Regions from separate parts of the Homo sapiens genome. Here all the other regions are linked to region 7. Evidence: promoter capture Hi-C in 16 types of primary human blood cells and fetal thymus (Javierre and others, 2016). All regions are on one chromosome and are shown on one strand. Each heading gives the region's core, a stretch centred on a gene start or on the middle of the fragment in contact. The rest is flanking DNA. Distances are from core to core; before and after follow the strand shown.

What was found. The method cuts DNA at HindIII sites, captures the fragments that hold promoters and counts their contacts. A CHiCAGO score of 5 or more calls a contact.
Region 1: a contact is called between a fragment that was not itself captured here and the fragment with the promoter of SLC6A18 in region 7, in 2 of 17 cell types (M1 macrophages and erythroblasts). The highest score is 5.6, in M1 macrophages.
Region 2: a fragment that was not itself captured here is called in contact with the fragment with the promoter of SLC6A18 in region 7 in 1 of 17 cell types (total CD8 T cells); the score reaches 5.3 in total CD8 T cells.
Region 3: a fragment that was not itself captured here is called in contact with the fragment with the promoter of SLC6A18 in region 7 in 1 of 17 cell types (monocytes); the score reaches 5.9 in monocytes.
Region 4: a contact is called between a fragment that was not itself captured here and the fragment with the promoter of SLC6A18 in region 7, in 14 of 17 cell types (M1 macrophages, M0 macrophages, non-activated CD4 T cells and 11 more). The highest score is 9.5, in M1 macrophages.
Region 5: a fragment that was not itself captured here is called in contact with the fragment with the promoter of SLC6A18 in region 7 in 1 of 17 cell types (monocytes); the score reaches 6.7 in monocytes.
Region 6: a contact is called between a fragment that was not itself captured here and the fragment with the promoter of SLC6A18 in region 7, in 2 of 17 cell types (monocytes and naive B cells). The highest score is 7.7, in monocytes.

Annotation. Positions count from the first base shown.
Region 1 is chr5:900,157-903,437 of GRCh38, reverse strand. TRIP13 (thyroid hormone receptor interactor 13) reads right to left here. Exons shown (of 13, transcript NM_004237.4): 4 at 2,889-2,944; 5 at 2,007-2,097. Among named protein-coding and RNA genes, the nearest start is that of TRIP13, 8.9 kb to the right of the region's middle. RefSeq lists a silencer at 50-344. The HindIII fragment of the contact is 227 bases long and covers 1,151-1,377 here.
Region 2 is chr5:1,553,456-1,556,746 of GRCh38, reverse strand. LOC107986397 (a long non-coding RNA gene) reads right to left here. Exons shown (of 2, transcript XR_007059102.1): 2 at 792-3,291. Among named protein-coding and RNA genes, the nearest start is that of LPCAT1, 31 kb to the right of the region's middle. The HindIII fragment of the contact is 946 bases long and covers 780-1,725 here.
Region 3 is chr5:1,733,520-1,736,707 of GRCh38, reverse strand. No RefSeq gene overlaps it. Among named protein-coding and RNA genes, the nearest start is that of MIR4277, 26 kb to the right of the region's middle. The HindIII fragment of the contact is 7,363 bases long and covers 1-3,188 here.
Region 4 is chr5:1,649,520-1,652,661 of GRCh38, reverse strand. No RefSeq gene overlaps it. Among named protein-coding and RNA genes, the nearest start is that of MIR4277, 58 kb to the left of the region's middle. The HindIII fragment of the contact is 4,657 bases long and covers 1-3,142 here.
Region 5 is chr5:1,694,319-1,697,283 of GRCh38, reverse strand. No RefSeq gene overlaps it. Among named protein-coding and RNA genes, the nearest start is that of MIR4277, 13 kb to the left of the region's middle. The HindIII fragment of the contact is 471 bases long and covers 1,085-1,555 here.
Region 6 is chr5:1,674,809-1,677,845 of GRCh38, reverse strand. No RefSeq gene overlaps it. Among named protein-coding and RNA genes, the nearest start is that of MIR4277, 33 kb to the left of the region's middle. The HindIII fragment of the contact is 3,271 bases long and covers 1-2,890 here.
Region 7 is chr5:1,223,761-1,227,133 of GRCh38, reverse strand. SLC6A18 (solute carrier family 6 member 18) reads right to left here and starts at 1,753. Exons shown (of 12, transcript NM_182632.3): 1 at 1,497-1,753. The coding sequence starts at 1,656. SLC6A19 (solute carrier family 6 member 19) reads right to left here. Exons shown (of 12, transcript NM_001003841.3): 12 at 2,023-3,373. RefSeq lists an enhancer at 817-1,359. The HindIII fragment of the contact is 4,471 bases long and covers 1-3,373 here.

The DNA of each region.
Region 1 (3,281 bases), core at 15-2,514, 320 kb after region 7:
GTAGCAATTACTCTTTATTCCAATATTATAATAATCCTTGCTCTACAATCATAACCTAGGAAAAACCAGGCCATACAGAGATAGGAGCTGAGGGGACATAGTGAGAAGTGACTAGAAGACAAGAGTGCGAGCCTTCTGTTATGCCTGGACAGGGCCACCAGAGGGCTCCTTGGTCTAGCAGTAATGCCAGCGTCTGGGAAGAAGCCCGCTGCCAAGCTGACCGTGGTCTAATGGTAGCGTCAGTGTCAAGGAAAAACACCTGCTACTTAGCAGACCGGGAAAGGGAGTCTCCCTTTCCCCCGGGGAGTTTAGAGAAGACTCTACCCCTCCACCTCTTGTGGAGGGCCTGACATTAGTCAGACCCGCCCGCAGTCATCCAGAGGCCTGTCTCCCTGTGATGCTGTGCTTCAGTGGTCATGCTCCTAGTCCGCCTTCATGTTCCATCCTGTACACCTGGCTCTGCCTTTTAGCTAGCAGTAGCAAATTAGTGAAAGTACTAAAAGTCTCTGATATGCAGAAATAATGGTGTAAGCCGTCTCTCTGTTTCTCTTCTCTCTCTCTGCCTCAGCTGCCAGGCAGGGAAGGGTCCCCTGTCCAGTGGACACGTGACCCACGTGACCTTACCTATCAGTGGAGATGGCTCACACTCCTTACCCTGCCCCTTTGTCTTGTATCCAATATATATCAGCGCAGCCTGGCATTCGGGGCCACTACCGGTCTCCGCGTCTTGGTGGTAGTGGTCCCCCAGGCCCAGCTGTCTTTTATCTCTTTGTCTTGTGTCTTTATTTCTACACTCTCTCGTCTTTGCACATGGGGAGAAAACTCACCAACCCTGTGGGGCTGGACCCTACAAAAGATGCCTCACAGAAGCTGCGAGGTGACCAATATGGAAAAAGGAAAGCATCTAACAGAAAATGGAGACATACAACTCTAATTTTCTGCAGGTATTTTCAAGAATTAAAGAGGAAATACGTAACTGGTTCCAAACAGAAACAACTTATTTCACTAATTAAAACACCTGCTGCTTACTCTGACTGTGCTATGAGGGCAGTATGCGGGGCCTGTCTGCTCTTTAAAAGAACATTGTGTTTTAAGGTCACTTTGTCACGCAATCTTAACTGACTTAAAGAAGCCAAGTACCCTTCAAGCTTCTATTTAACACTTGGCTACAGTTTCATACTCTCGAGTCCACTCAATTCCCGTGTCCCCATTCTACCCGGTGATATTGACAACAAAACAAAACAAAACCAAACAACAAACCATCAGTATTTTCTCCTGAGAAGAACCAGACAGAATTTCTTTAAAATATGGCTTTTTCAGTTTACTCCTCACAAAGTAAAGCTCTGAGTACTACAAGCCTAATTTATAAGTTAAGCTTTATCATAGGAATGTCTGTAGGAAAAAATAGTCTACATAAGGTTTAGTATTATCCACGTTTGGGGCATCTGAGGATGTCTTGGAATGTGGCCCCCCACAGGAAGACTTGATTAAGTGCCGAGTAATCAATGCCCCAGGGGCCGCGCGCGGTGGCTCAAGCCTGTAATCCCAGCACTTTGGGAGGCTGAGGCGGGCGGATCACCTGAGGTCAGGAGTTTGAGACCAGCCTGGTCAACGTGGTGAAACCCCGTCTCTACTAAAAATACAAAACTTAGCTGGGTGTGGTGGCGCATGCCTGTAATCCCAGCTACTCGGGAGGCTGAGGTAGGAGAGTTGCTGGAACCTGGGAGGAACCCAGGAAGTGGAGGTTGCAGTGAGCCGAGATCGGGCCACTGCACTCCAGCCTGGTCGACAGCGAGACTCTGTCTCAAAAACAAAAACAAACAAACAAACAAAAAATGTCCCAAGTGTCATGAGCTGGATCTGCTTCACAGAGAGGGGACATTCTAGGACAGCTGTGGCTCCTTCAGAAAACAAAGAGCCGTAACTCCTTGCAGAAGGACGAAGGTACAAGTAAAGGCTAAATTTCATGCCACTTATCTGGTCAAATAAAAGCCTGCATAATTTACCGTGGAGCAGCACCACCCGGTTCCAGGTGATGAGGTTGCTGTTGACGTTCTTGTCTGAAAACAGTAAAGTTGTCATCACATAATCGAGGAGCTGATAGAGAAAAAGAAAAGAGCTTGACAAAGATACCAACAAGGCAAAGGTCCCCAAGAAATGTGCCCTCCCCCAGGGCTTAATCCTACATGAGAAGAGGGAGCACAGGGAGCGAGGCCGCCTCCTAAGAGATCATCACCTCCAAACGCTTTCATTTCAGAAGAGAAGGTGCTTCCAAAAGGGAAAAGGAAAAACACTGGCTATTACTATTATAAATATAAGAAGAGCAACAAAATGATCACTTTTATTTAAAGTGCCAACATTAAACAAAACCACTAAGGGGTTTGTTTATCAAGTAATGAGTAAGCTCCTTCCCTAGAATGATACAGCAGTTATTATTCGCAAAATAACAACAGCCACAATGCAGAGGAGCAGTCTGAGTGATAGTCTCAGACTATCAATGCAGAGGACAGCTGAGTGATAGTCTTCTAGCCAGCTGCTGGCATGGGAAAGACCCTTCCCGTTGAAGAGGGTGCAGGGGTTAAGACACACCGGCCTTTCCTTTGTGCGGACCAGGCTTGCTCACCTTCCCTCCTCCCATCTCCAGAGGGTTTAATTCTCTAAGTTGCCTTCACGTTCTCCCTTTCCCTCTTCTCCCTCAGGGAGCTCCTCAGAGACCAGCTCTACTCTGGAGCAATACTAGAGGATAGATGTCCAGGACAAGGGCTGCCAGCAGACAGGGGCTCCCAAAAACCCATCTGCATCAAGTTGCTCAGGGGTGTTGGAGAGCAAAACAGTAATGGTTCCTCTTCAAATAACAGGGCATTCTGGGAAAAGGCACAGCAACTTACATGGGATTTGACTTCCACATCGTATACCAAGCTGTCCCAAAGCCCATGGAATTCAGCTGTGACAGAATTAAACAAAGACCTGATTTCAGGAAGGCAAGCAATTACAGCCACCCCCAGTCAGTCTCCCCTGAGCCTAAGCCTGAGCTTCCCATTGTGCTGCTCCAGGCAAGACTATGATTCTGATTACAGGAAAGTATAAATTCTGCAAATTTTTCTTCAAATTTTGATTTTTATTAAAATCAAAGATGCAAAATAAATGCCAGTCACATGTAACTTCTGGCAGACAACTGGATGGAGTCAAAGAATTACACTTTACGTCTCATTATCACGCACAATTGTCTTTTAAAAAAACTTTAACTTCCCATCCTTCTTTAAGGTATTGTTGTCATTTAT
Region 2 (3,291 bases), core at 3-2,502, 330 kb before region 7:
CGTTCCCTCTGCCGCCGCCGCCATGCGAAGCCCTCCTCACCCTGTAGCCCCACCAGGAGGGAAGCTCCGTCCCTCAGCAGCCAGCACTCCCATGGGGATTCCTGCAGGAGAAACCTGAGGGTAAGGGGCGAGGCGAGCAGGATAGGGCAGGACCAGGCGTCAGGAGGGGGTCCCTGTCAGCCAGTGACCCGCACCCCACTGCTGGCCCTGGGGAGGCCAGGGTGGCCATGGCACCCGCCACTGTCAGTCATTGGCTCTGGGCCACCCACAGTCTGTGCTCGTGACCTCCCAGGCATCTCCCAAAGAGGTACACAGCCTCCTCAACTCGGCAAAGGGGTACAGGCCCAGACAGGGCATCTGGGAGGCACGGCAGCACCTCCACAAGCCCTGTGGACAACGGTGGGCCCCATCTGGCACCGCCCACTCTGCACATGGCACTCAGGAGGCGCTCGGGGCACCTGTGTTCATGGAGCACAGAGCAAAATGGCACTTGCGCGCACGTGGGATTCATGCCCCAGCCCGCTGTCCTCAGCCAATGGGCAGCAAGCTGGAGATACACTCCTTCCTGGAGGCCTCGGGCCAGGGGCTCTGTCGCCAGGCTCTAGATCAGCACTGACCCCTTCCTGGATCATGACCCGGACATGGGGTGGACCTAGGGCCTCGGCTGGGGTTGGAGAGATGATAAGGGAGGCTGTGGCCTGCAAGGTGAGGCCCGCAGGGCTCAGCATTGATCTGGCCTCCCCTCAGATTGCTCCAGTGGCCTCTCTCAGCCTCAAGCTTCTCATCAGTAAAATGGTGCAGAAAACAGGGCTTCATGTCCTGGAGGGTGTGAATTCACCAGGGCCCTAAATCACCCAGACCCCTACTGTGTCCTTGCAGGGACATGGCACTCCTGCGTTTGCTTCATTCCATTAAAGAGAAAAAACACAGACACAGCCACTGGTTGTAGAGCTCGTGGTAAACAACCCACCGCCGGCGCCCCGCTCCACAGCCACCCCACAGCTGCCGTTCTGACGCGCGGCCGCCACTGTGCAGCTCTTTCTGCTGGACGTGGCATCTTCGCCTCCTCCGACATCTAAGAATCCTGGGCCAGCCCTGTGGTTCACCACAAGGAATGCCGTACATTGGGCAACTATGAGCCAGGAAACCACACTCAGAGGAGCTGGACACGGGACATCAAGGGCACTGCTGGCAGTTGAATGGTGTTTGCAGAGGGAGGCAGGGAGACGAGGGCAACCTTGACCCAAGCTCTTGCTCGGATAAACACTTAAGCAACGTTGTCAGGAAGGAATCCATGACTCGATGGTTCAGCAAATATTAGCTCAGCAGGTGGCATTCAGCTGCTGGGGGCAGAGACAGCATTGCATGCAGACACGGCTCCACTCAAGTTGGCCCGCCCTCGTGTGTGAGGAGGGCGCCCGGCCAGCCAGCACCCACCCTGGAGGCTCCCTTGGCAGGTGCAGTCCACCTGGCCCAGCTGCAGACAAGACCCGTGGCTTGGAGGTTCTGGGTGTGTCTCTGTCTCTGTGGGCTGAGGGACATCGTGGAGCCCATCCTCAGCCCCATGGGAGCCTGAGACACTCCCTCCTCACTGCTCACACCAGACCAGGTTCAGAAAGAGACATGAGGCACTGTGCGTTTTGCAGAGTCCACAGGATGAACACAAGGGTTTGGATCCCAGACGTGCCAAATGCCTAAAGGGTGCACTCATTAAAAAACAAAGCTTTGAAGCTGAGGATCATTTCTGCAATGTGGAATAATCCTTGTTTTTAGAAAAGTCAGTTTTCAATTCAATCTGTCTCATAATTGAAAATCTTTATGTAGTGAAGTATCTTGAAGTAAAACAAGCTGCTAACAAGCCACCATCACAACTTAATGAGCGCAGCACAGGGGCACTTCCCGGCACGCGCCTGCCCTCGGCCACACGGCTGGTTTCCACCAGGCTCCCCACATGTTGCCTTCAGGCTGAGCCTCGGAGGCACCCATGTTGGCCGTAGCCTTGTAGAACAGTTAAAATTCATAAATGCACTGGAGTTTTGGGGGACCAAGCCGCTCACCTTGCAGAGAAGGAAGATGAGGTGCTGAACACCCAATGCCTTGATCAAGGACATGCAGTGGCCCCAAACCAGGACCTGTCCCTTGCCCTCGGCTGCCCTGTGCCCTGGTCAGGTGTGGTCAGGCCTGTGGAGTTTCTGTTTGGTAAAGACCTTGCATCAGGCATGTCACCTCCAAGATGTCCCTCCCTTTTACCCTGCCTCTCATTACCAAGCTCAGACACAACTTTACCTGCTTCCAGACACCCAATTAAAACCCATCCACACGTAAAACCTCTTGGGCCATGAGGAGCAGGGTTACACCTGGGGGCACTGGATGTGGGGCATGGCTCTTCCTGTGCCCTGGGCCCCAGGTGCCCCCACAAAGCCCTTGGCTGCCCTTGGGTCCACCCCTCCTCACCCCCAGCACAGCAGTTTCCGGCACTGAGACTTGCGCTCTCACCTGCTGAGACTTTCGGAGCGTTCGTTTGAGCAGCACCTGTGGCCAGTAAGATCCTCGCGTTGAAAGGCCTCCCAGCCTCTGGAGGCCTCCTGGGAGCCGCTGTCCTCATAGGATGTGTCCCCCAGGGGGAAAGGCTCCCCACCCTGCCAGTTCCTCCACCAGCGGGACCAGCAGCACCCATCTGGTCCTCAGCCCGCTGGGCTTCAGATCCCTGCCAGCCCACAGGATTCTCCCAACACCCTGCCCCAAGCCCCACAGAGCCAGGGTCCCCTCACCCTGTGGGCGGCCACTGCAAAGCCATGCAGCCCCTGAGAGCCCACCCTGTCCCCGAGTGGAGTGGGCCGCCTTCCACCCGCACATCAGCACCTGTGACCGTGGCCTGCTGTCACTCTCAGCTGTCCAGGGTTGGGTGCTGGGCACTCAGGCATCTGGTGCCATTGAGGGCAGCGGGTCCCCCTCACCAATAGGGTAGAGAGGAAGGAGGTGATCAGAATAGCCCCTGTGGCTCAGCAGGCCCAGCTTGCAGGCCCACCAGAGCCTTGCAGGACCCCACTTCCCCCATCAATGGGCTGCAGAGGAAACTGCAGGGCTGGGCTTTTCTATCAGAGGACCATCCGGACATCTCAGATTACAGAGCCACAAAGACGGGGAGCTGGCGGGGCAACTCCCCAAAATCCAAAGGAGTGGGGGGCTCTAAGTCACGGCGGCTCTAAGTGGTGAGGGCTCTAGTGGTGGGAGCTCTAAGACTTGGGGTCTCCAAGTCGTGGGGGCTCTAAGTAGTGGGGGCTCTAGTGG
Region 3 (3,188 bases), core at 638-3,137, 510 kb before region 7:
CTGGGACAGAGGAGGAGGGCCGGCCCCCTCCCCTCCCAGCCTGGATGTTACATAGAACAGAACAGCAAGGTGCAGAATGAGGACCATCATCCCGAGAATGGGAACTGTCATAAAAGTCACTAAGGCAGCCAGAACCTCCTTTATCCACATGTAAAAGAAAATAACTGTGAAATCAGATTCTAGTTTAGTTCCCAGAAGTTCCTCTCCGTCTCACTGAATAGCAGCTCAAATGAAAATTAATTTACGCAGATGCATAGGATGTGCAAGGCATCTGATTTGACTTCTCTCTTTTTGTGTGAGACTCAGAAGCCCAGGGAGGGGCCTGGTCGGGTCACAGAGTCAGCATGGGCACCACCAGGACCAGGACCTACAATTGCTTTCCTGCCCCAGGGACCAACTGTGCATTGACCGCAGCTCATGACAAGGAGACTGGGGGAAGCCGGGTGGCTGCAGGGCTGCTCACCCCTCCTTCATACCCACCAGCTCCAGAGTTGTCTATCAGGACCCTGACCTTCTTAAAAGTGGTTTTAAGATGTCAGCTATATGTTCCCAAGGAAGCCTGGTGTATCCCCCTCTACACAGCCTCATCCCAGGGTAAGTATTCCATGGCAAGGCTGACCAGGACTCAGAGAAAAGCTCTCCATGCACCAAGCCTTTGTCTCTGATCAATCGTGATTTGAATAGGGTTGCCAGGCATAGCAGAAACACACCGACAAGAACAATGACAAAAGACAGGACTCCAGCTTAAATGTGAAATTCAGATAAACAACAAATCATGTAGTGCTTTAAGTATGTCCTAAATGCTGCATGGATGTACTTATCTTTGCATAGCAATCCTTGCATCACAGCTGGTTTTGCCCTTGCTTTGACCAATGGAGCACCCTGGGAGGGACTTCATGTCAGGGCAGAGCCTGGCCTCAGGGGGCCTTGGAATTGCTGCCCCTTGTCCTGGAGCCCTCCCCAGAAGCCACCAGAATGAGTGGATGAGACTGCCTGGGGGTGAGACCTTGGACCAGCCACATCAGCTGCTTGTTCCAGCCCAGGTTCCAACCCACAGAGAACTCAGCCACAGCCACATGGTCACATGGTCATGGGGAGGTGGGCAGAACTCCCTGTTGAGCCCAGGCACCCCTGCTGCTGACCACAGAGTTGTGAGCTAAGGACATGGCTGCCATCTGCCATCTGAAGGTGCTGCCCCTGGGGACATCTGTTAGGCAGGAGTGAACGGCGGGCACTGCGCTGCTGCCTTGTTCTGTGCCTCCCTGTATGGATGCTCTCCGCCTGGCTCAGCTCCGACTCCCCAGTGCCAGGGTGAGTGTAACGCGCAGCATGCTGCCCGAAACATCTCCGGCACCTATGAGCCCACCTGCCCAAACACACAGGAGTGCAGGGCTAAGGAAGGTTGTGCTCAGCCTGCCAGCTGCTTATATGGTGAACCAAACCTTAGAGCTGTTAGGCTGGAGGATGCCCTGGTAAACGTCACAACGTGGGCAGCATGGGACCAGCTTCTTCCTGTCCCTCCCTGGGCCCCCCATCTCTAAGAGCTGCCGGTGCCTTCCTGCTGGTGTCTTTGTGCAGGACTCCCTGGCTGTGGGATCCTCTTATCAAGGACGGGATGCGGGCGCATCCTCTGGAGTTAATCACAGGCTGGGAATCTGCACTCCCACAGCAAACATCACATCGCCAGCCTCTTGGGGCTGCAGGGCTGAGCCTCCCCCGGGATGGATTTCCCTCCCTTTGCTATTAAATTGAGTTTAAGACTGCAGTTGTCTGAACGGGTTTGCCTGAGAGGGCCCAGCCCACAGCTAGAGCTTCAGCCCGAGGATCCCGATCGGGTCCCATGTCTGCTGAGCTTCGCTGGACGCAGGTGCTCATGACACCCAGGGCAGGGTCCCCATCCACCCACCTCACTCATCCCTGCCGGCTGCAACCTTTCTCCCTGATGCCACGGCCAGCACAGTCCCTGAGTCAGCAAGACCTGGCACGGCATGACGGGGAACCCTGAGAGCTGGGCCCTTTCCCTTCCCCCGCCCCCACCAGAACCACAGGGCGTTGTGGCCAGCCTCTGGCTGCAGGTTTGCAGATGGGGGCTTGCAAGGACTGTATCCCTTTCGGGTGAGGGCCAGGCAGCCCAGCCGGCCCCAGACAGGTCTCTTGCCTGTTGAAGGAGGCCAGCAGGTCCGGACAAACCCCCAAAGCCAGGGCTCTGCCACCTCCTGATTATGGGAATGATGAACCTCCAGGAACCCCCGCCCCCGAGTCCCCACCCCAGAGGGACTGTCCCTGGCTAATGACAGGGCTCACCCCAACCCTCTGGCAGCACCTCCTGGGCCCCACCCCATCACACCAGCCCCAGCCCACACCCTTCTCTTGCCCACACTCCTGGGGTCCCTGCCTGCCCCGCAGCCAGGACAGCAGATGGCGGCAGGGCCTCCCAGCCATGGTTAAGAGCATCGTCTCGGCCAGGCACGGTGGCTCACACCTGTAATTCCAGCACTTTGGGAGGCCAAGGTGGGCGGATCGCCTGAGCTCAGGAGTTCACGACTAGCCTCAGCAACACGGTGAAATCCTGTCTCTACTAAAATACAAAAAATTAACCAGGTGTGGCAGTGTGTGCCTGTAGTCCGAGCTACTCGGGAGGCTGAGGCAGGAGGATCGCTTGAACCCAGGAGGCAGAGGTTGCAGTGAGCTGAGATCGCGCCACTGCACTCCAGCCTGGCAACAGAGCAAGACTCCATCTCAAAAAAAAAAAAAAAAAAATCATCTCTCAGGAACGCATGGCTTGGTGAGAGCTCCATGTCTCAGCCATGCCCCCAACACAGGGTCAAATCCTGCTAATCCACCCCACACGCCACACCCTCTGCAGTAACACCCTGGTCCTCAGGAAGCCCCATTCATGGAGGGCACATCTGTGGAATTCCCCAACCAGGTCCTAGTGGGAGGAGGAAGATGAGGGAGCTCAGTCCCAGGAGAGCCTGAGGCTCCCCCAGCAGTGATGCCTGAGGCTTGGAAGTGGTGGAGAGTGGGGAGGGGTCACTCCAGGGGCGCAGGGGCCCTCTGCAGAGAGTGCCTTGGGTGAGACTTCCTGAGCAGAAGGGATGGTGGCTATGCTGGGCGGACCGGGCAGGCTGCTGAGGGGCCCCTGAGGGCAGGGAGGAGATGGCTAAGAGGGCGGCAGTGAGGGTAAG
Region 4 (3,142 bases), core at 283-2,782, 430 kb before region 7:
AGGGCACCTGGGAGACCCACAGCATCCTCCCTGCACCCGGCCCTCGCCCCACCTCACAGCATCCTGCGAGGCTGGCCAGATCCCATGGCCACACGGCCAGATCATGGATTTCCAAGCCCTGGCTCTCTCCTACATCCTGTTACACTCATGTGGTCCCTGGAGTGGGTTAGGGACAGCATGGCCAGCCTGGCCCTCTGGAGAAGCACGGAACTGTGGTGGGAGCAGGCAGAGGGACAGGCCGCCATGGATTGTTCCAGGACCCCCCATGGCGAGGGACCCCATTCTCCCTGAGAATTTATCTGTTCTTGTCCCACTCTCAGGCTCCTCCTAAGAATGGGCCCTGCCCTTCCCTTGCCCAGCACCTCCCCCACAGCCTCTGCTTGTGCACCCACCCTGCCCCACATTCGGGGGCCTGAGGAGCCCTCACCTTGAGACCCCTCCTCTCGAAAGGTCCCTGACCACCCACCCACTCCAGGCACCCCCTTCTTCCCCAGGGAACTTCCACCCTGTCTGGGCCATTGCTCCAGACCCTCCATCCCCTCATCAACCTTCGGGGCAGGAGATCAAAGAAAAACCAGGCTGCCTTGTTCTCAGCAGGAGCTCAGCAGGAGCCCAGGGCCTGGCAGAGGCTCTTCGGGTCACAGGATGAGCCAAGGAAGGGAAGAGTGACACTGTCCCAGGCCCCGAGGACCCAGGCCCCATGCCCCCATAGGCCCTGCCCCACAGGCCGGTCCTCCCCCAGCCCCACCCCTCCCCAGACCTCATCCCTCCCCAGCCTTACCCTCCCCAGCCCTGACATCTCCAGGCCACCCCTCCCCAGGCATCATCCCTCCCCAGCCTTGCCCTACCCCTGCCCTGCCCTCTGTGGCCCCCCCCTCCCCAGCCCCACCTTCCCCAGGCCTCACCCCTCCCCAGGCCTCATCCCTCCCCCAGCCCCACCCCTCCCCAGCCCTACCTTCTTCCAGCCCCACCTTCCCCAGGCCTCACCCCTCCCCATCCCCCACTCTTCCCAGGCCCTACCCTCCCCAGGCCTCACCCCTCCCCATCCCCCACTCTTCCCAGGCCCTACCCTCCCCAGGCCTCACCCCTCCCCAGGCCTCATCCCTCCCCAGCCCCGCCCTCCCCTGACCCCACTCTCCCCAGCCCCACCCTTTTCTGGCCCTGCCCTCCCCAGGACCCACCCCAGCCCTCACGGTGCGTCTGTCCAGCGAAGCTGTCTGGATCCCATGGCTGCACTGCCAGGTGGTGAGCTTCCAAGCCCTGGGCTCCCAGGACTCTGTCACTTTAGGGATCCCCTCCCACCCACCTCCAAACTCCTCATACCCCCCACCACCCTCACCCGAAGCCCCTGCTTCCCCACACCCGGGATGAACACCCAGTAATTAAGATGTTCAAGTATTTTCTTTCTTTCCATTTCTTTCTATTTACACACCTTCAAATTAAAATTGGAATAAAGTCGTCTGTATAACTTAATGCTCTCACTTAGCACGACCCTCTCATGAGTGTTTTCTCATGTTACTGGAAGTTCTTCAGCAGCACTGTCTACCTGTAGCGGCTGCCGAACACGACAGGATTTGCATTTGCCAGAATCGATTGAACTACTTCCATGAGGTTGGAAAGACGGACATTTAGGCCCTTTATTTCTTTATTTTATTTTTACCAACATTTTCTAAATGCTGCAAAATGAACACCTGGACCGTTTTGTTGTTTACTTGTTTACTCCTCCACATAGATCAGGGGTCTGCAAACGTGCTCTGCAGACAGCTAGAGAGTCAGTATTGTGCTGGGGGCGGGGACGGGGAAGATGGTCTCCACCGCACACTCTTCCTTATTCGCTAATCGTTTTCACAGTAACGGACCATTCCGAGCTCTTGGCCGTGCAGCAACAGGCCACAGAGCGGATTTTGACCACTTGCCAGTTTATCACCCTAAAGGCAGCATTGCTAGGTCAGCCACATTGGAAGGCTTCTGGTGCATATTACCAAACCCCTCTCCAGAACAAAATTATGCTGATACTTTTGCTACTAGTATCTGAAAACGCATATTCCTCTGAATATTTGCCAACATTGACTATTACTATTTTTAAGCAAATTGCTAAATTCATCGTTAAAACTCAAATTGCATCTTCCTGGGTTGTTGTGATTCTATTTCCACATCTAACTTCATTCGATTGCGCCTTCCTTCTTCCCGTAAGACCTCTAGACACTGAGGACATCAGATGTCAAAACCGTCACAGCGTGCTTCCGGTTTTTGTTGGATTTTGTTTGTTTTGTTATGGTGTTTTTTGAAGTGTCACAGGGTTTAATGTCTTTGTAATCAAATCTAAAATTTTTTGAAAAGTGTTTATTGATACATAATAATTGTACATATTTACAGGGCAGTTGTGATATTTTGATTGTGCACACAGCATGTAGTGATCAAATCAGGGTATGTAGTATATCCATCACTTGGAACATCTACTCTTTCTTTCTGTTGGGAAGATTCCAGTTCTTCTAGCTATTTTGAAATATACAGCGGACCAGGTGCAGTGGCTCACACCTGTAATCCCAGCGCTTTAGGAGGCCAAGGCAGGTGGATCACCTGAGGTCAGGAGTTCGAGACCAGCCTGGCCAACATGGCAAAACCCTGTCTCTACTGAAAACACAAAAATTAGCCAGGCATGGTGGCACACACCTGTAATCCCAGCTACTCGGGAGGCTGACAGGAGAATCGTTTGAACCCAGGAGGCGGAGGTTGCAGTGAGCCGAGATCATGCCTCCACTGCACTCCAGCCTGGAGTGAGACTCTGTCAAAAAGAAATAAAGAAAGTAAGAAAGAGAGAAAGAGAGAGAGAGAGAAAGAAAAAGAAAGAGAGAGAGAGAGAGAAAGAGAGAAAGAAAGAGAAAGAAGGAAAAGAAAGAGAGAAAGAGAGAGAGAGAAAGAAAGAAGGGAGGGAGGAAGGGAAGGAAGGAAGGAAGGAAGAAAGGAAGGAAGGAAACAGTAAATGATTGTTGCCTTTGGTCTGTGAACTGTTCTATGGAACATTGGAACTTACTCCTTCCCCTGACTGCATGTTTGTGCCCCGTAACCAGCCTCACTTTCTGTCTGCCTCTCACCCACACACCCTGCCCAGCCTCTGGGAACCACCAGCCAACTCTCTGCC
Region 5 (2,965 bases), core at 71-2,570, 470 kb before region 7:
CACTTTGGGGGTGACTGTCTCCATCACTCCCAGATGGGACCATCGAGTTGCAGGAAAACAAGCTCAGGGCTCCCACTGATTATACGTGATAGTGAGCTGTATAATTATTTCAGTATATAATACAATGTAATAATTACTAGGTTGGTTCAAAAGTAATTGCGGTTTTTGCCATTAAAAGTAATCTCTGGTGCCAAAAAATGTTGGGGACTGCTGCTTTAAATCATGCAGGTGGAATAAAGATGTGGTTATTTAAAAAGTTGAGAAAATTTATCTGCAACATACTTGCCTTACAAGGCATACTAAAGCCACATTTTTCAGCTCAAGGAAAATGTTCATGGGGGAAAGGATGAAAGGAATGAAGAGCACCACAAAGGATAACTGTTAGGGGCAGTGTGAGTGTATGGATTGTTTAAAGTGATCTTCTGGTGTTTGCAACGAACACAGAAGTAAAATATATGACTACAATGGCATTAAAGGAAATGCGAGCGGGGGCACGACAGACCACTCATAAGATCCTTCAACTGCTTGGGAAGTGATAAAAGTATTCGTTTCAGGTAGGTGTTTTGTTTTGTTTTGTTTTTTGTTTTTTTTCCCCCCACAGGGTCTCGCTCTGTCACCCAGGCTGCAGTGCAGTGGCACAATCATGGCTCACTGCAGCCAAAACCTCCCAGGCTCAGGTGATTCTCCTTCTCAGTCGTCTGAGTAGCTGGGACTACAGGTGCCCACCACTATGCTTGGCTTATTTTTCTTAACATCTTTTGTAGAGAACAGGGTCTTACTTTGTTGCCCAGGCTGCTCTCAAATTCCTGGGCTCAGGCAATCCTCCTGCCTTTGCCTCCCAAAGTGCTGGAATTACAGGCGTCAGCCACTGTGCCTGGCCTAAGGTAGGTTTTTATACTTCAACTATGCAAATAATAAACTATAGGGAAATAAAAAATATATAACTATAGTGCCAATAAAGTGGGGATAAATAAAGTAAAGAAGACACATGGAATAAACAGAAAATAAATTATAAGATTTTAGAATGACCATTCAACTATGAATATAAGTAAATTTAAAGGACTAACTTCATTATGACCAAGCTTGCCATATTGGTTTTTAAAAAGTAAAGAAAAAAAAATCCCACCACATTTGTAAGATGATGTTCTGAGTGAGTTTCCAATTTTCAGTCTTTACTGGGGTCAGGTCAAAGTCATCACCATGCCAGACAGATAAAACTTTCATAGAAAATAGTGTTACTGGCACAAAGAATCAGGGACAGAGATTGTGGAGACCTCAGCAGATGGAATTTGGCAGGATGAATTCTGAAAAACAGAGAACTACAGAGATTGATACCTGAGTTCTGTGTGTTAGACCTTTCCAAATCTCCAGCTGAGCTCTGAAACTGTGATTACAGTAAATGTAAAGAAACTGAAAATGAAAGAAATAAGCAGAGATTTCAGCTGTTTGCCATTATTATAAGGAAAGTGTTTGGAGTTTACATTCAGGCAAATTAACTGCCTCTAAAAACAGATAAAATAGCAACAGTATTCCAAAGAACAAAAAGAATCAAGCTTTTACAATGTTTAACAATAATATCCTGCTATAATCCCTAAAATTTGTAGATATTATATTTTTCTAAAAAAGGAAAACCAGAAAAATGTGACCCACAATAAAGAGTAAAGGCAGGGCCAGGCGCAGTGGCTCACGCCTGTAATCCCAGCACTTTGGGAGGCCGAGGCGGGCGGATCACGAGGTCAGGAGATTGAGACCATCCTGGCTAACACAGTGAAACCCCGTCTCTACTAAAAATACAAAAAATTAGCCGGGCGTGGTGGCGGGCGCCTGTAGTCCCAGCTACTCGGGAGGCTGAGGCAGGAGAATGGTGTGAACCCAGGAGGCGGAGCTTGCAGTGAGCCGAGATTGCGCCACTGCAGTCCAGCCTGGGCCACAGAGTGAGACTCCATCTCAAAGAAAAAAAAAGAGTAAAGGCAAATGACAGAGGCCAACTCCAAGATAACTCAGGTGTTGGAGTTACTACACAAGAATGTTAAGGCAGAAATGATAACAATAACACTCAAGGGCATAAAGAATGAATGAATATTTGAAATGAATGAACAAATAGTAAATGTCATCAGAAAAATTAAGAGAACCAAATATAAATTACTTAAAATGTATAAAATATAAAAGAACTATATGAAATTCTATAACTGAAAAATATAATATCTGAAATGGAAAATGCAACATGTACACTTAGCAGCAGAATAGGGATGATACAGGAGCCAGTAAACTTGGAAGATACATTAACAGAAATCATCTAATCTTAGGGAGAAGAAGAAAAAAACTGAAAGACATCAATGCAGTCTCAGAGACCTGAGAGATACCATCAAAGGGTCTAATAGTGAAATGTGAGTCACAGGTGTACAGGAACAAATGGGGGAGAAAAACATTTTTGAAAAGTAGAGGACACATTTTCTCACTTTAGTAGAAGACATGAGATTAAAGAATCAAGAGGCCGGGCGCGGTGGCTCACGCCTATAATCCCAGCACTCTGGGAGGCCGAGGCGGGCGGATCACAAGGTCAGGAGATCGAGACCATCCTGGCTAACACGGTGAAACCCCATGTCTATTTAAAATACAAAAAATTAGCTGGGCGTGGTGGCGGGCCCCCGTAGTCCCAGCTACTCAGGAGACTGAGGCCCAAGAATGGCATGAACCCAGGAGGCGGAGCTTGCAGTGAGCTGAGATTGCGCCACTGCACTCCAGCCTGGGCGACAGAGTGAGACTCCATCTCAAAAAAATAAATAAATAAATAAAAAAGAATCAAGAAACCCAAGTGAACCCAAAGCAGGATTGACAGAAAGAAAAGTATCCCAAGCACATTAGGGTCTAAATGAGGAAAGTCAAAGGTAAGAGGAAACATTAAAAGCAGCTGAAGAAAAAGCACACATCATACACAGGAGAACAACATGCAAACAACTGCTGG
Region 6 (3,037 bases), core at 6-2,505, 450 kb before region 7:
GATCACATGAGGTCAGTAGTTTGAGACCAGCCTGACCAACATGGTGAAACACTGTCTTTACTAAAAATACAAAAATTAGCTGGGCTTGGTGACACACTCCTGTAATCCCAGCTACTCAGGAGGCTGAAGCAAGAGAATCGCTTGAATCCGGGAGGTGGAGGTTGCAGTGAGCCAAGATCATGCCACTGCATTTCAGCCTGGGCAACAGAGTGAGACCCTGTCTCAAAAAAGAAAAAAAAAAAAGACAAAAGATAGCAAATGCTGGTGAGGATGTTGAGAAAAGGGAACTCACACACTGTTGATAAGAATGTAAATTAGTGCAGCCACCCTACTACTGGGTATTTATCCAAAGGAAAGAAAATCAGTATATGAAAGGGATATCTGCACCCCTATGTTTACTGCAGCAGCAACACTATTCACAATAGCAAAGATATGGAATTACACCAAGTATCTATTAGCAGATGAATGGATAAAGAAAAGGTGGTATATACACACAATGGAATACTATTCCACCATAAAAAATGAAATCCTGCCATTCATGGCAACATGGATAGAACTGGAGGTCACTGTGTTTAGTGAAATAAGCCAGACAGAAAGGAATATTACATGTTCTCACCCATATGTGGGAGCTGAAACAGTGGCTCTCATGGAGATTGACAGCGGAATGATAGTCACCAAGGCTGGGAAAGATTGGCAGGGTGAATGAAGAGTGGGAGGTTAATGAGCACAAAAACACACAGTCAGAAGAAATAAGTTCTAGTGTCTGATAGCACAGTGGGGTGACTATAGTTAACACAATATGTTGCATTTTTCAAAATAGCTAGAAGAGAAGATTTAAAATGTTCCCAATTCAAAGAAATGATAAATGTTTGACGTGATGGATATTCTGAACCCTGACTTGATCATTACATATTCTATGCATGCATCAAAATAGCACATGCCCCATAAACAGGTATTAATATCATGCATCAATTAAAAACATTTTTTTAAATCAGCATTTCAGGTTGGAATTCCATTGTCTTCTGTCTTACATTGTTTTTGATGGGAAGTCAGTCATTATTTCTGTCTTTGTTATTCTGTATGTAATATGTTTGCCTACCCTGGACTACCTCTAAGATTATTATTTTTATAATTCATTGTCAGTAATTTGATTAAAATGGGCCTTGGTGTGATTTTCTTTGTTCTTTGAGTTTCTTTATCCATGGGTATATATCTTCTCCAAATCCAGAGAAATTTCAGGCATTATTTCTTCAAATATTTTCTGCTCTCTCCCTTTTTCTTGTATTCTCACTACACACGTTAGGCCTCTTGATATTAGCCCACAAGCCAAAGAAAATCTGATCTTTTTTCAGCCTTTTAAAAAAGTTTTGTTCCTTCTGTTTGGATGATTTCTATTGATCAGTCTTCAAGTTCATGTTTCTTCTGCAGTTTCTAGTCTGCTCTTAAGCCCATTAGGTAACTTTTTATTTCATATAGAAGGTCTCTAACTCATGGTGGTTTAACTTGATTTTTGAACATTACGATGGTGTAAAAATGGTATATAATCAGTAGAAACCGGACTTTGAGTGCTTAAGCAACCCTTCTCTTTTTTGGCTTTTAGTACAGTATTCAATAAATTACATGAGATATTCAAGACTTTATTATAAACTAGGCTTTGTGCTAGATGATTTTAGGCTAATGTAAGTGCTCTGAACACATTTAAGGTAGGCTAGGCTAAGCTATTATATTTGGTGGTTAGGTGTATTTACTGCATTTTTTATTTACAATATTTTCAACTTACAATGAAGTGGCATCTGTATTTGTTTTTCACCTCTGTAATATTATTTCTTTATATTTATATTAGTATTATTTATACTTATTGTAAAGAAATAGTATTTTGTTTTTCATCTCTGTAATACTATTTCTTCATATAGTTTTTTTCCTGTTCATTATGTGCAATTTTCCTTAAGTTCTTGGATCTACTTCTATTTTATTTTTGAGACAGAGTTTCGCTCTTGTTGTCCAGGCTGGAGTGCAATGGCACAATCTCGGCTCACCACAACCTCTGCCTCCCAGGTTTAAGTGATCCTCCTGCCTCAGCCTCCTGAATAGCCGGGATTATAGGCATGCACCACCATGCCTGGGTAATTTTGTATTTTTAGTAGAGACAGGGTTTCTCCATGTTGGTCAGGCTGGTCTCGAACTCCCAACCTCAGGTGATTGCCCACCTCGGCCTCCCAAAGTGTTGGGATTACAGGCATGAGGCACCGCGCCCAGCCTCTTGGACCTATTTCTAACTGCTATTTTCAATTTCTTATCTGCTATTTTAATCATCTTTGTCATTTCTGGATCTTTTTCTCCATGGACTGGGTCAAGTTTCCCTGATCTTTTGCATGCCTAATAATTTTTATCGGGTGATGTGCATTGTGACTATTACGCTGCTGAGTGGCTGCATCTCACTGCCTTCCTTTAGTACACGTTGAGGACATTTCCCCCAGAAGGAAGTGAATTTCCTCGTGGTCCAGGTGCTTTCTTTGAAGGTTGATTTAGGCTTTATAGAGTTGGAGATAGATTAGCCTTCACCCTAGATCTGGTTTGGCCCTGATACTAAGGTATGCCTTTTCTGGGATCTTTACTAAAAGTCCTAGGCATTCAACAAAGTATTTCTACCCTGCCTGGTCAGAACTTGAATTTGTCCCAGCCCTGTGCCACCTCTGATAGTTGTTCCTTGTCCCACCTTAGCAACATTTCTTTGTCAACAGAAATAGCAAAGGTGGTGGAATTAGCAGGGAAGCACTTTTAAAAAGCTCTTATGAATATGTTCAAGGATTCAAAGCAAACTGAACACGATTAATCTTTATTTTTGCTGATTCCTATTTAGGATTTTCTCAGACTTTGTTGTTTTAAAGCTTCATTTTGATGTGTCTAAGGATGGATTTCCTCTTGTCTAAATGTTTCTTGCGATAATTGGGATTCTTAAATGTCTGTATTGGTGTCTCTAAAAATTTCTGCACATCATTTCTTCACATGTTTTATCTGCCTCGTTTTCTCTTAGCCC
Region 7 (3,373 bases), core at 504-3,003:
CATCGACGGGCAAGGCGTCGGCGGGCAAGGCGTCGGCGGGCAAGGCGTCGGCGGGCAAGGGGTCGGCGGGCAAGGTGTCGGCGGGCAAGGCGTCGGCGGGCAAGGCGTTGGGCGCGTCGGCGGGCAAGGCATCGGTGGGCAAGGCATCGGTGGGCAAGGCGTCGGTGGGCAAGGCGTTGGGCAAGGCATCAGCAGGAAAGGCATCGGTGGGCAAGGCATTGGCGAACAAGGCGTTGGTGGGTAAAGCGTTGGCCGGCATTTCCAGCTCTGCGTGAAGCCTGCTGCCCCCACAACCTTGCATGCTCTGGTGACTCTTAGCAGATCGAGCCGCAGCACAGGCAGCGAGGGCCCCGGGAGCCAGGGACGCCTCTGCCCTTGGGCTTTGGTGCTTTCAGAAATGCCTTCAAAGGGACTCTCATGATGAGAAGATCCAAGGCCCAATGCACCCTCTCCAGCCCCAAAGCCCCAAAGAGACCCCAGTGCCCCGAGGGTGGCAGTGACGGGTGTTTCTTTTTGTTTTTTCCATTTGTGCGCATTTCCTGCATTTTCTGCCTGTTGAGAATCTTTTCTTAAGCAGGAGGAAAAACACTTTAAAGGAGTAACCTTATAACAAGGGATAGTTGTGCGGGGCTCTCAGGGAAGGAGCTGAGGGCCCGGGGAACAGGCTGACCAAGCAGCCCGGCCTGGCCTGAGGAGGACCCTGCGGCCTGGGAAGCCCCTGCCCGTGTTGCCTGGGGAAGACCTGGGTGTCCATGCGTGATGTTGTACGTCGGCTCCCTGAGAGCAGTGATTCATGCCTGTCCCTACATCCTGTGTCGCCACATGGAGAGCAGAGTGTGACCCCTGCATGAAGAGAAGCAGGCACAGGGTGAGGGGAGGCTCGAGGTGCGTGGGAGCCTATTTCAGTCACCAATGCACTTCTGGGGGTGGTGAGTCCAAGGTCACTAAAGTCACCCAGACAGTTCTGAACATCCTGGCACCCCCCACAGGGCTCTCCCAGAGAACCAAAGCCAGGGAGGCGAGGGGTGGGCCCCCAAATTCCTGCAAAGAACCTCGGAGAAGGGCACCTGAGCACATGTCTGGACACACCAAGGCTGTGGTGAGGAAACCCAGAGCGGATTGTGTGTTCTTTAAAGAACTGACGACATTCAGATGGAAGAGCGCTCACTGTTTGTAGGGTGTGTGTGTCGGGCAGGGCGGCCCATTCAACCTGACGCCTGGCAGGAAGCTGCCCTGAGGTCCCGGAAGACCATAGTGGACCCCGAGGGGACTGGATCCTCCGTGCTGTGGGCAGTGGTGAAGCTGCCCTGAGGTCCCAGAAGACTGCAGGTGGGCCCTGAGGGGACTGACTCTGCCGTGGGCAATGGTGCACCCTGGTTTCCAGGAGGAGTGACTCTGCCCAAGCACTGGGGATGCGTGGCAGGCGCCTGGCAGGTCAGGGTGGAGACGGCCTCCCCTGCTTAGGGGTCTGCCCCAGGACGCAGGTGGGTGCTTACCTCCTCCATAGGTCTGGCACAGGTATGGGAACCGCCAAATGTTCCCCAGTCCCACGGCAAACCCAGTGCAGCTCAGGAGGTACTGGGCCTTGTTGTCCCACTTGGGCCTCTCATCCCCGAGGTCGCAGGCGGCCGGGTCCGGTTCTGGGGCATGAGCCATGGTGACTGAGTGCCCCAGGCTTCAGGGCAAGGGTGGTGCCTCACTCCACACCCAGCACTAGAGAGCCGTCTCCAGCCTCTGCCGACGTTTGGAAACCACAAGCAGCCCCACTGCAGTTGTATTTATTCATTTCTTTAAAGGAAAACCAGTGGAGTGCCGTTAATGGGTAACTCAGGTCCAGGCCCTGGCTCTGACGCCAGGGTCCTTCCCTGGCACCCACGTCCTCTGCTCCTTCTCGCATGCTCTGTGTTCCAGGCAAACGCCGGGCCTGGCACCACCCCCAGCACCATGAGGACCGTTTGCAAGGACAGCCTCAAGTTTTTTTGTTGCAGACACCAGGATTCCCAAGACTGAGGCATATTTTAATCGTTTTAAATTTCTTATGTTTTATTTAACCATTTGATCTTGAGATACTTATAGATTGTCACTCTGTCACTGTCAGAAACAACTCAGATCAGATCGCATGCACCCGAAGCCCGGATTCCCGCAGGGATCCTCTCAGCTGCTCTTGGGAGGCCGGGGGCTGCCCTCACACCCACTGCTGCCCTCGGGCCGCTGGGCAGGACAGGGTGACAGGCACCCACCGTGCGTGGGGGCAGAGGGCTGAGTCCTCTCCTGTGCTGGGGGCACCCCTGTCCATGGGTGGAGGGTTGATGAGTTGACGCCGGGTGAGTTCAGCTCTAAGGAGCTCCCCACAGTGCTCCCTGGACTCTGGGGCTCCTCCTTGCAGATGCTCCCGCCACGGACAGGCCAAGGGCCCCCAGGCCCGCAATTGCCCCATTCCACTGGACACTGCACCCCTCAACCGTGTGGCCACAACTCCAAATCCATGAGTCCCAGGGCAGGGGCCCAGGTGGACACATTTTTGGAAGGTTCTTATTTGAGTGAGAGGAAGTGTGAGGGAAGAAGATGAGAAGAGCTGGTTGGTCCCCATTGTGAGGCCACAGGCCTGGGCCATGGCCTCTTCGGAGCAAGCCCCCAAAGCCAGACCCCCCAGGAGGAGGCAGGAGCTGGACCTGCCGTCCCCACCATCCCGTCTGAGGTCACTGGCTCACTCATCCCTCTACGTCTGGACAACAGTAACTTCTAGGGTGAGCATACTCAATAGAAGGGATTTATTTAGAAATGTACACTTTATGCCCATAAAGCCTGCATTTCTACCACATTTACAGAGACATTGAAACCTATGAAACAACGCATGAATCAGGAGATGTAGATGAGATGGGAGCTCCCGCCCAGGGTCCTATGGCAGGCACACCAGGGTACACCAATGGATGCCAGGGCACATCAGTGCACACCTGTGCATGCCAGGGTACACCAATGCACACCTGTGCACGCCTGGCAGGGCCTCCTGGGCAGATGCCACAGGGCAGCATATTAATGGGGCACTGATGGAAATTTTCTCGATCCAGGGCCAAAGAGCAGGAAAAGATGAGGTGAGACCCTGTTGAAGCCATCAGCAGGCGAGCCCCTCGGTGGCATCACAGCCGGGGGCAGAGGCTGTGATATGTCCCCCCACCTCTGCTGCTGTGGAGTCTTGCGCATCCCAGGGCCCAGTGACAGTCAGCAGGGTGAAAGGGGCTGGTAGGGGACTCAGTGTGTGCAGTCACTGCTGGATGGGGTGCTGGAAGGGACGATTGTGACCAGGTTTCTGTGGGTGGAACATCATACTGGCACACACCAGGCTTTCAGTCCTGCCTGTAGGAATTCTCAGAAC